Regions from separate parts of the Homo sapiens genome. Here regions 1 and 3 are each linked to region 2. The links are contacts of gene promoters, found by promoter capture Hi-C in human tissues and cell types (Jung and others, 2019). All regions are on one chromosome and are shown on one strand. The core of a region is centred on a gene start or on the middle of the fragment in contact, and the rest is flanking DNA. Distances in the headings are between cores, read along the strand shown.

What was found. Contacts are between HindIII fragments. The study calls those that stand out against the background at their distance.
Region 1: the fragment with the promoter of ZSCAN4 here is called in contact with the fragment with the promoter of ZIM3 in region 2 in 1 of the 25 tissues and cell types used here (hippocampus).
Region 3: a contact is called between the fragment with the promoter of ZNF814 here and the fragment with the promoter of ZIM3 in region 2, in 2 of the 25 tissues and cell types used here (adrenal gland and stomach).

Annotation. Positions count from the first base shown.
Region 1 is chr19:57,667,458-57,670,982 of GRCh38, forward strand. It overlaps ZSCAN4 (zinc finger and SCAN domain containing 4), which reads left to right and starts at 1,478. Exons shown (of 5, transcript NM_152677.4): 1 at 1,478-1,746; 2 at 2,788-3,110. The HindIII fragment of the contact is 8,369 bases long and covers 1-3,525 here.
Region 2 is chr19:57,142,349-57,146,451 of GRCh38, forward strand. It overlaps ZIM3 (zinc finger imprinted 3), which reads right to left and starts at 2,854. Exons shown (of 5, transcript NM_052882.1): 1 at 2,511-2,854; 2 at 281-337. The coding sequence starts at 295. The HindIII fragment of the contact is 26,155 bases long and covers 1,305-4,103 here.
Region 3 is chr19:57,887,157-57,891,051 of GRCh38, forward strand. ZNF814 (zinc finger protein 814) reads right to left here and starts at 1,881. Exons shown (of 3, transcript NM_001144989.2): 1 at 1,611-1,881. The coding sequence starts at 1,646. RefSeq lists enhancers at 25-757, 782-1,325, 1,326-1,868, 1,542-1,591. The HindIII fragment of the contact is 24,676 bases long and covers 1-3,895 here.

The DNA of each region.
Region 1 (3,525 bases), core at 228-2,727, 520 kb after region 2:
TATTTTGATGTTAAAATGGAGTTATTTAGGATCTACTTTACAGGACTGTTGTGATGGAAATGGGTTAACATACAGAAAGCACTGAGAACAGAGTCAAATATGCCCTGACTGCTTAAAGGTTAGTTATTATGATCCCTGATGCTATTACTACTCTTACTGATATCATCGTGCCTCAGGTCTAACTGCTCCCAGAGTTACACACCAGCATGTCCAACAGCTGGCTGTATATCTGAACTCAAAAATCCAATAACCTCCTCCAAACAGAAATTGCCAGCTTTTCCCCAAACCTTTTCCTTACAGCTCCTTACAGAGCTCAAGGAACTCCTTGAGACTGCAGAAGCAGACAGGAAATGCTTTCAACCCACCACAAATTAACAACTGGCCTCCAGTGGTACTCACATTGTCTACATTTTTCATTGTTTTTTTTTTGTTTGTTTTTTGTTTGTTTGTTTGTTTGTTTTTGAGACAGAGTCTCACTCTGTCGCCCAGGCTGGAGAGCAGTGGTGCGATCTTGGCTCACTGCAACCTCGGCCTCCCAGGTTCAAGTGATTCTCCTGCCTCAGGCTCCCGAGTACTTGGGATTACAGGTGCCTGCCACCATGCCTGGCTAATTTTTGTATTTTTTTAGTAGAGACGAGGTTTCATCATGTTGGCCAGGCTGGTCTCAAACTCCTGACCTCAGGTGATCCACCCGCCTCGGCCTCCCAAAGTGCTGGGATTACAGGCATGAGCCACTGCGCCCAGCCCATTTTTCATTGTTGTAGCAGAGAAGTATCCCTGCTTCCATCAAGAGCCAATTTTCCTGTCACAGTTGGTTTAATGACATAGTTGGTGACAGGACCTAAACCACCAGTGGAAAATTGGCTCTTGATGGGAGCAGGGATACTTCTCTGTATGGAGTATATGTGGATGAAACTCCTTGGAGAAATGGACTAGTACACAGTCTTATAATGTGAGGATTCAGAACATAATTCCTAATGTGGGGAAGTCAAGCAGACATTTCATCAGTGGAGTACCAGGAGATTCAAACTCTGTACCCAACAGTGATAGGGGGACAATCTAAGCCCCAAGAGGCTGCATGCCTGATGGAGCAGATGAAACACATGGCTGTAATTAGCTCCCACCCCTTCGATACGTTCTCAACTCCACCAAAGCCTCAGCCTGTATGAGGGTGGAAAGTGGGGAGGGAGAGTGCAGGGAAGAAGGCACAGCTTCCACCACACTAGGTGACCAGGCGCTTCTCACCATTTTAACTCCTCCATCTCTCTCAAGCCTCATGTTAAGTCTATCAAACATCATATGCTTTCTCAATATAAAATATGCACCAATTTCTCCCTTTCCACTGATATAATCCTAGTCTCAACCCCTGTCATCTTTTTGATGGATTAGGAATGCCTTCTCTGGGTCCCGGGCCCCCTCTGTTTCACCAGCCTGGAATTGGCACAGGAGTCACAGCATTAGCCTTGCCCTCTGCCACCCTTGTAATTCATAAATCTCTGAAAACTTAAAAGTTTGAGCAAAAGTTTGTCATGTTTCTATGAGTAATTTATAATAAAACTTGATCAGAATTTGTGAGACTAACGTTTGTCTTTATATTTTCCTTTTTTTTTTTTTTTTTTTTGAGACACAGTCTCGCTCTGTCGTCCAGGCTGGAGTGCCGTGGCGTAATCTCGGCTCACTGCAACCTCTGCCTCCTGGATTCAAACAATTCTTCTGCCTCAGCCTCCTGAGTAGCTGGGATTACAGGTGCATGCTACCACGCCCAGATAATTTTTGTATTTTTAATAGAAACCGGGTTTAACCATGTTGGTCAGGCTGGTCTCAAACTCCTGACCTCATGATCCACCTGCCTCGGCCTCCCAAAGTGCTGGGATTACAGGCGCGAGCCACCACACCCAGCCTGTCTTTATATTTTCATTTAATGTGGACCTTGTTACATTTTACCGCAGATTTTGTATTTTTGTGTGTGTTTGTTTGTTTGTTGGTTTTTGAGACAGTCTACCTCTGTCGCCCAGGCTGCAGTGCAGTGGCACAATTTCAGCTCACTGCAACCTCCGCCTCTGTGGTTCAAACAATTCTTCTGCTCAGCCTCCTGAATAGCTGGGACTACAGGCACGCGCCACTACGCCTGGCTAATTTTTGCATTTTTAGTAGAGATGGGGTTTCACCATATTGGCCAGGCTGGTCTCGAACTCTTGACCTCGTGATCCGCCCACCTCGGCCTCCAAAAGTGCTGGGATTACAGGCATGGTTTTTTTTTTGTTCGTTTTGTTTTGTTTTTTTTTTAGAGACTTGGTCTCCTTCCATTTCCCAGGCCAGAGTTCAGTAGGGCGGTCATAATCCACTGTAGCCATGAACTCCCTGGCTCAAACAAGCTACACAGACATGCCACCATGCCTGGCTAACATTTTTAACATTATTTTTGGTAGAGACAGGGTCTTGCTTTGTTGCTCAGGCTAGGGATTCACAGAGTCTTGCTCTGTCTCCCAGGCTGGAATGCAGTGGCGCAATCTTGGCTCACTCTAGCCTCTGCCTCCCAGGTTCAAGTAATTCTCCTGCCTCAGCCTCCCAAGTAGCTGGGATTACAGGTGCCCACCACCATGCCCGGCTAATTTTTGTATTTTTAGTAGAGAAAGGGTTTCACCATGTTGGCCAGGCTGGTCTTGAACTCCTGATCTCAGGTGATCTGCCTGCCTCAGCCTCCCAAAGTGCTGAGATTACAGGTGTGAGCCACTGCACCTAGCCTGCAGAAATATTAATGTGTTTGTTTATGACCTGTTGACCCAGGACCAGTGATGGTATAGAACACTGTATTAGAGACATGGAGCTGGGGCTGGATGAAGATTCCATCAGTAATTCAATCAACAGACAAGTGTTATCCAATCACGTCTTTAAATCAATCACTGACATGGAGCTGGGGCTGGATGAAGATTCCATCAGTAATTCAATCAACAGACAAGTGTTATCCAATCACGTCTTTAAATCAATCACTGATCCCAGCCCCTATAAAAGGGAGCAGCCTTAGGAGGCACATCAGATAAACCCAGTGTGGAAAGCTAGTCACACATCAGCTCAGTGTTCGGCCCGGGATTACCCAGTCAACCAAGGAGGTAAGCTTCCATAATGGAAGGAAAATTTTGTGCCTTTGAGTGTGTATACATTTTGTGTCTTTGAGTGTGTATACATAATTTTGTGTCTTTGAGTGTGTATACATGTGTATGTAGGCATAGCTATTTCAGGAAAATTCCTAACTACAGAGATATGGGGGTCTCCCAGGTGTAGGGAATGGTCTTTTGTTACAACAGCTCTGACCCAAAAGGGCTTGATGTTGTGAACTCTGTATAAAGGCCTGGTGTGACTGAAGATTTTTCTTCAAAAAGTCTATCGTATGACTTTATGTTCTAGTAATTCTTTTTTTTTTTTCGAGACAAGATCTCTATCACCCAGGCTAAAGTTTAGTAGCCCCAATCACAGCTCACTGCAGCTTCAGCCTCCCCAGGCTCAAGTGATCCTTCCACCTTAGCT
Region 2 (4,103 bases), core at 1,604-4,103:
CCAGGCTGGTTTCAAACTCCTGAACTCAAGCGATCCGCCTGCCTTGGCCTCCTAGATTGCTGAATTACAGGTGTGAGCCACCATGCCCAGCCTTGAGCTTTACTTGAAATGTTTCAGCTTTAATAGGAAAGCAGAAAGTAGAGTGTGTGTTACCTTTTAATAGAAGTATGGAAGGAAGGAGGAAAATATGCCAAAAGGTTAGCACAGTTAATTCTGAGCAAGAGGAACGTGGGTCATACGTTTATTCATTATGAGATTTAGATTTTTTTGAAAAGCTCACCTGGGAATTGTTCATTTCCTGTTCTTCACCAGTCAGTAAAGTCTTGGGAAGGCAGATCTGAGGGAAAATGGAAAAGAACCATGAAATAGCAGAATTCGCTTTGGAAGTTGGGGATCATCCAGCATAGAATGCTCCACACCCTGGATAAAAGCTCTCCCTAACCCACTCAGAAAAGCCCTGACTTGTACCTCAGTGATCCCCTTCTGAAGGTCTTTTTTTTTTTTGTTTTGGTTTTTTTGTGTTTGTTTATTTATTGAGACTGGGTCTCAAAGAAGAAAGTGCAAGCCAGGCACGGTGGCTCACGCCTGTAATCCCAGCACTTTGGGAGGCTGAAGCAGGCAGATCACCAGAGGTCAGGAGTTCGAGACCAGCCTGTCCAACATGGTGAAACCCCGTCTCTACTAAAAATACAAAATTGGCTGGGCGCGGTGACTCATGCCTGTAATGCCAGCACTTTGGGAGGCCGAGGCAGGCGGATCACGAGGTCAGGAGATCAAGACCATCCTGGCCAACACGGTGAAACCCTGTCTCTACTAAAAATACAAAAACAAAATTAGCCAGGCGTGGTGGCGGGCGCCTGTAGTCCCAGCTACTCGGGAGGCTGAGGCAGGAGAATGGCGGGAACCCGGGAGGCGGAGCTTGCAGTGAGCCGAGATCGCGCCACCGCACTCCAGCCTGGGCGACAGAGCGAGACTCCGTCCCAAAAAAAAAAAAAAAGAGAGAGAGAGAAAGCTAAACAGCAGTTCAACAGCACCTTTAAAACAAGCCTGTGCAAAGACAATGAGGCAAGCATCAGATCAGCTAGAGCACAGTAAGGAAGGCCGAGAGCAGAAACCATGAATCCTGAAGCAGCTGTGGTCGTGACGAATAACGCCGCAGTGAACATGGGATGCAGATAGCCCTTCAGCTTTGCCATAAGCGGGACAGCTGGATCATTGGTAATTCTTTGCCAAAAGCGTAGATTTTGGCCACGCGTGGCAGCTCACACCTATAATCCCAGCACTTTGGAAAGCCAAGGTGGGAGGATCAGTTGAGCCCAGGAGTTACTTTTTTTTTTTTTTTTTTAAGACCAAGTCTTGCTCTGTCGCCCAGGCTGGAGTGCAGTGGCACAGTCTCGGCTCACTGCAACCTCTGCCTCCCGGGTTCAAGGGATTCCCCTGCCTCAGCCTCCCGTGTAGCTGGGATTACAGGCATGCACCACCATGCCCAGCTAATTTTTGCATTTTTAGTAGAGACAAGGTTTTACCATGTTGTTCAGGCTGGTCTCGAGCTGCTGATCTCAAGTGATCCGCCGGCCTCAGCCTCCCAAAGTGCTGGGATTATAGGCGTGAACCACCACATCCAGCCAAGCCCAGGAGTTTGAGACCAGCCTGTGCAACATAGTGAAACCTCTGTCTCAATGTTTAAGTAATAAAGTTTTTATTTTTTATTTTATTTTATTGAGGCAGGGTCTCATTCTGTCACCCAGGCTGGAGTGCAGTGATGTGATCCCGGCTCACAGCAGTTTAAAAATCCCTGGCTCAAGCAATCCTCCTACCTTGGCCTCCTGAATAGTTAAGACTATGGGTGCATGCTACCACATCAGCTAACTTTTTATTTTTTGTAAAGAAGGGATCTTGCTATGTCACCTAAACTGGTCTCAAACTCCTAGGCTCAAGCAATCCTCCTCCCTCAGCCTCCCCAAATCCTGGGATTACATGCATGAGCCACCACACCAGCCAGGAATAAAGTTTTAAATAAGTAAATATGTTTTTAAAAAGAATAAACTTGCCGGGCACAACTTTAATGTTTATTAAAGTTTGAGGAGTCCAATTCTAGCACAAAAAATATATATAATTTTAAAAAACAGTAAATTGTAAATGCTTTCACCACAAAAATAGATTAATTAGCTTGATTTAATCATCCCCCCAATGTAAACATGTATCAAAACATCACATTGTACCCCATAAATAAACACAATTATTATTTGTCAATAAAAAGTTTTTAGAAGTAGCTGTGGGCCAGCAGTAATGCTAAGGACTGGAGGGCCACGAAAATAATTTTGAGTGTCCTGGGAGCATCACTTTTCAATATGACAACTAAAAAAAAAATCTAAACTACCAATGTAAAATATTTAGCTTATTCCAGCAAATAGGAGAGGTAGAAAAATGAAACTAAGTAAAAATGCAAAACAAACAAACAAACAAAACCCAGACATTTGGTTTTCAGGGAGAAAAAAAAATCAGCTTACCTCCAGTGGAATCTGGCATAAATTAGCAAGTTGATTGATTTCTGATGCCTGTGGTCTTTTCTTCTGAAAGGGACTGAAAATGAAAAGGCGTGTATACTGAAAAGCTACACTAATGACTAAAACTTAATCGGCCCTCTACCCGCTGTATTCCGCATCATAATCCAGTCAAGAAACAACCCAAAACACTCACTTCCTATCAAAAGCCCCACCTGATCCTATCAGGCCACATCAAAATTTCAATTCCCAATTCTTTCCTCGACTTCTCCAAAACTGAATGAACTCTCATAAAAATTGTGATTGTGAAAGCTTAATTTTCAAATCTGCCCAATCAGTTTCCAATGGAATTTTTTTTAAGTTCATGCAAGTAAAAATTTTTTACCTTAACTTTGAAATAGAAAGCATGGAAAACATTATCCAAATGTCAGAGGATGAAAATAAATTAAAACAACAAAAATTGGCTGGGCACGGTGGCTCATGCCTGTAATCCCAGCACTTTGGGAGGACAGGAGTTCAAGACCAGCCTGGCCAACATGGGGAAACCCCGTCTCTACTAAAAATACAAAAATTAGCTGGTCATGGTGGCACGTGCCTGTAATCCCAGCTACTTGGGAGGCTGAGGCAGGAGAATCGCTTGAACCCGGGAGACGGAGGCTTCAGTGAGCCAAGATCGTGCCACTGCACTCCAGCCTGGGCAATGAGCGAGACTCCATCTCACGTCTCAAAAAAAAAAAAAGAAAGGAAAAGAAAAAAGAAATAGGGCCAGCGGAGGTGGAACAATGCCTTAAAGTGCTCTCCGCCCGACAGAAAGAATTCAGGCTCCAACCTCCAACTGGCAAAATCTCTTCAGCTGTACTAATACTCTCAAAATGAGATCAACATGCCAATCCATCCCCACCCTAGTCTGGGTGTTGAATTTAAACACAGGCTACATGCCCTTGCCTGCAGACATGGAGACCTTCCAAAATTGAGCGTCCAACTGAATTCCAAGAGATTAAACCAGACTTCATGGGACAGGATGCACCAGACTAGACCTCCTCCCAGGAGAAGAGGTATCCAAAGATCGTATTAGCAAATGACCCTTGGCGGTGTGCGGTGGCTCAAGCCTGTAATCCCAACACTTTGGGAGACTGAGGCAGACAGATCACCTGAGGTCAGGAGTTCAAGACCAGCCTGGTCAACATGGTGAAATCCTGTCTCTACTAAAAATACAAAAATTAGCTGGGCATGGTGGTACACACCTGTAGTCCCAGCTACTCAGCTACTCAAGAGGCTGAGGCAGAATTGCTTGAACCCAAAACACAGAGGTTGCTGTGAGCTGAGATCATGCCACTGCACTCCAGCCTGGGCGACAGAGGGAGACTCCATCTCAAAAAAAAAAAAAAGAAAAAAAAAGCAAAATGACCCAGCCAGCCTGAATCCCAGCCGCCGTGTCGGACTACTATAGTCCCAGATACTTGGAAGGCTGAGGTGGGAGGATCAATTGAGCCCAAGAGGTCAAGGCTGCAGTGAGCAAGGATCTTGCCACTGCATTCCAGCCTGAGAGACAGAGCAAGCCTGCAGGTGAACGGAAAGGGGTGGAGTGATTTTATATAT
Region 3 (3,895 bases), core at 631-3,130, 740 kb after region 2:
CTGCCTGGGCAACAAGAGCGAAACTCCGTCTCAAGAAAACAAAACAAAATAAAAAATAAAGACTACATCTAACCAGGTAAGGTCACAAACAAGGAAACTCTTCCACTATCAGTTCTCACCAGAGTATTCTGTAACTGTAAAAGATTAGGCCTTCAGCAGCTCAAAACTCAGCATCTGCTGCCTAAGGCTCTGCCACCTCAAAGACTCTTCCTTGTAAGACTGCAGGCCAATTGCCCACCAACTGGCCCAGACCAAGATGCCTTTTGTCTTCCTTGCTCCCTCTAAACTGGTTCCATAACGTTTGCTCCTATATCTTTTTCCTCTTGATGCTAAGCATTATTTTGTTCCTTGTGTTGTAATGCCCAACCTTGTTTTCACTAATCCTGTTTTTAGACTCTCCCTTTTGCTCTCTTAATCACCTAGCCTCGTTTCCACATGAATAGACTCTCGCTTAGCTGAGAAAGCCAGACGAGCTCCACCTGGCCCCCTTGATTTACAAGACATTAAGGACTCCTTACCCACCCCCCTTTCCTCAAGGAGTTAACTTGTGTAAGCAGATTCTCAACATATCAAAGGAGTCCAATTAACTGATAAGGGACTGGGAACAAACCATGTATGAAGTTCCCAGGATTTTGCTCAAAAGATAACACCATAAAGCCTTGAGTTTGTGTCTGGCGTAGTGCCCATATCTAACTCTTATGAAGGATTTAGAGCGCCACACCTGGTACCTTGCCTTTTTGTAACCATTTGTCTTTTAAATTGTTTGTTTCTCTGTAACCATTTATCCTTTTAATTTTTTGCATGTTTTTACTTCTGAAGAGTTGTTGCATTTAAGCTCCCCTCCCCTTCCTAAACCAAAGTATAAAAGTTAATCAAGCCCCTTCCTCGGGGCCGAGAGAATTTTGAGCGTTAGCCGTCTCTTTGGCCGCCAGCTGAATAAAGGACTCTTAATTCGTCTCAAAGTGTGGCGTTTTTCTAACTCGCCCGGGTACAACAGTGTTATGTTTAACCTTTAACATTTACATGTTAAGTATACTATTGTGTATTGTTTGCTATATTGACTGACTTGGGGAGTGTCTTCAGCCTCTGTGCCCATGGCCAACTACCAAGTGAACTGGAATCACAAGAGAATTGCCTCCTTCGAACTCCATTTAGCTCATGGCTTTTGTTGACTCAAATATCACCTGACACTGTGCAAAGACACAAACATGCATGGACCTGATTATCTCTACCCTTACAATGCTCATGACATCCCTCCTTTCTTCGAAAATCTCCATGCCTTCTAGGGTCCTCACGTGAGTTCATAGCCCCCAGCCTGCTTGCTCTTCCAGGAGGAGCTCCGCCTCATAATTTGCTCCCAACAGGCACCTGTGGACCCCAGATTCCATCCTTCTGGCTCAGTTCACTTCCAGGCCTTTGCCCGCGCCAGTCCCTGTACCTGCCGGTCTCCCCACCGCATCCCACGGGTGTCAGAAATGGGGCCCCTCCCGCAAGCGCCTCAGTGTCCCAACGCCGGCGTCCGGGCTGCAGAGCCGTGAACAGGCGCTGCTACCTCGCTGCTTTTGGGTGACGATGAGGTGACCTGAGGACACAGAAGGCCCCACAATTACCTGAGCGGAGAGCCTCAGCGTAGCCGCGGCAGCCATCGAACCACGTGGTTTTAAGCAGAGTCGGGAGGATAGGGCGACCAGCCAGGAGATATGGGCACGACGGTCCGTATCCTGGCCCAGGAGTGGGTCACGCTGGGCGCCGTCACAGAGCTCCAGAGTAGCCTCTGTGCAGCGGAGGACAACTGCTCCCCGACTTCTGGGTTCAGTCACCACAGTGCGGACCTAGCGCTCAGGAGCCTCTCCTACAAATAAATCCAACACCAATCAAAATGGCCGCCACCAGAGGGCGCCGGAAGTCCGGACCCATTGTCACGTGCACACAGGAAACGCCTTTATTCTGAGCCCTCAGAGGTCTTCTACGCTATCATTCGAGGCTGAGTTTTCTGGGTAATGTAGTTCCCTAGGCAACAAGGAGGGTAAAGGGCGCAATTCCCAGAGGCGCTTCTGCAGGAAAAGCCCAGCTTCACCTCGGGAGTATCCTTAAGATGTGCGTCCTGACTGGTATGGTGGCTCCCGCCTGTAATTCCACCAGTTTGGGAGGCCAAGTCACAAGGATCATTTGAGGTCAGGAGTTAGAAATTAGCCTGAGCAACAAAGCAAAATCCTGTCTCTACAAAAAATAAAAAATATTAGCGGAGTGTGGTCGGGCGGGCCTGTGGTCCCAGCTGCCCTAAGGTTGGGGTTAGGGTTAGGGAGCCTGAGGAGGGAGAATCGCTTGAGCTCAGGAGTTCGAAGCTGCTGTAAGCCGAGATCGTACCACTGCATTCCAGCCTGGGCAACAGAACGAGACCTCTTATCTAAAAAATAAAAATAAGGGCCAGGTGCGGGCGGCTCACGCCCGTAATCCCAGCACTTTGGGAGGCCGAGGCAGGTGGAACACCTGAGGTCAGGAGTTCAAGACTGGCCTGGCCAACATGGTGAAACCCCGCCTCTACTAAAAATACAAAAATTAACCCACATGGTGACATGCGCCTGTAATCCCAGCTACTGGGGAGGCCGAGGCAGGAGAATCTCTTGTACATGGGAGTCAGAGGTTGCGGTGAGTGAGATCCTGCCACTGCACTCCAGCCTGGGTGACACAGCAAGACTCCATGTTGGAAAAAAAAATAAAAATAAAAATAAAAAAATAAATAAAAGATTGCAGATCTTTCTCCTAGGCAGAGGATCATCCTGCCTCTCCTTAGAACTCACATTGAGATTTCTTGGGGTTATTGGCTGTAACTGATTACCCTAGTGTATGGAAAAATATTATTTCAGAGTTAGTGTAGATGTTCCCAAAGGCTACAGATCCAAATTCACCTATCATTTCAGATGGTCCTTCAGATGCAAAATTCTTCCACTGGAAGCAAAGATTAATGCAAAGATTAATAACCATTATTGTATTGTTAAAATGAACGTGTAAACACCCAGAGGGTTCATTTTTCCTACTGCCCAGATAAAGCCAATTTATCAGGACAGGGAAATTGCAAAAGAAAAAGAGTTTTATTCACACAGAGTTGGATGAACAGCATACTGGAGTCTTACTAGTATTACTCAAATCAGTCTCCCTGAAAATTGCGAGACTGGGGTTTTTTGTTGTTGTTGTTGTTTATTTGTTTGTTTGTTTTCTGAGACAGAATTTTGCTCCTGTTGCCCAGGCTGAAGTGCAATGTCACGATCTCAGCTCACTGCAACCTCCGCCTCCTGAGACTGGGGTTTTTTAAGGATAATTTGGTAGATAGGGGGCCATGAATTGGGGAATGCTGATTGGTTGGGTTGGAGATGAAATCATAGGGAGTCAAAGTTGTTCTCTTGTGCTGAGTGGGTTCTGGGGGAGAGGGAGGCACAAGACCAGATAAGCCAGTTTACCCATCTGAGTGGTGCCATCAGATCCATCAAGTTCAGGGTCTGAAAAATATCTCCAGCACCAATCTTAGCTTTTGCAATGGTGATACCATCCCTAGGAACAACTGGGGATGTTTACAGTCTTGTGGCCCCTGGCTGCATGACTCCTAAATGATAATTTCTAATCTATGGGGCCCTAATAAATCAGTAAGTTAACAGGAATTGGGAAGGAGCCAAGCTGGCAGAACAAGAACCTAACCCCATCTGCAACCTCTTTGTGGGAAGAAACCACAGCTGTCAGAAGTGTTTAACAGAGCAACTCCGTCTTGAATAGGGGTTGGATAAAATGAGGCTGAGCTGCATTCCCAGACAGTGAAGACATTCTAAGTCACAGGATGAGATAGGAGGTCAGCACAAGATACAGGCCATAAAGACGTTGCTGATAAAACAGTTTGCAGTAA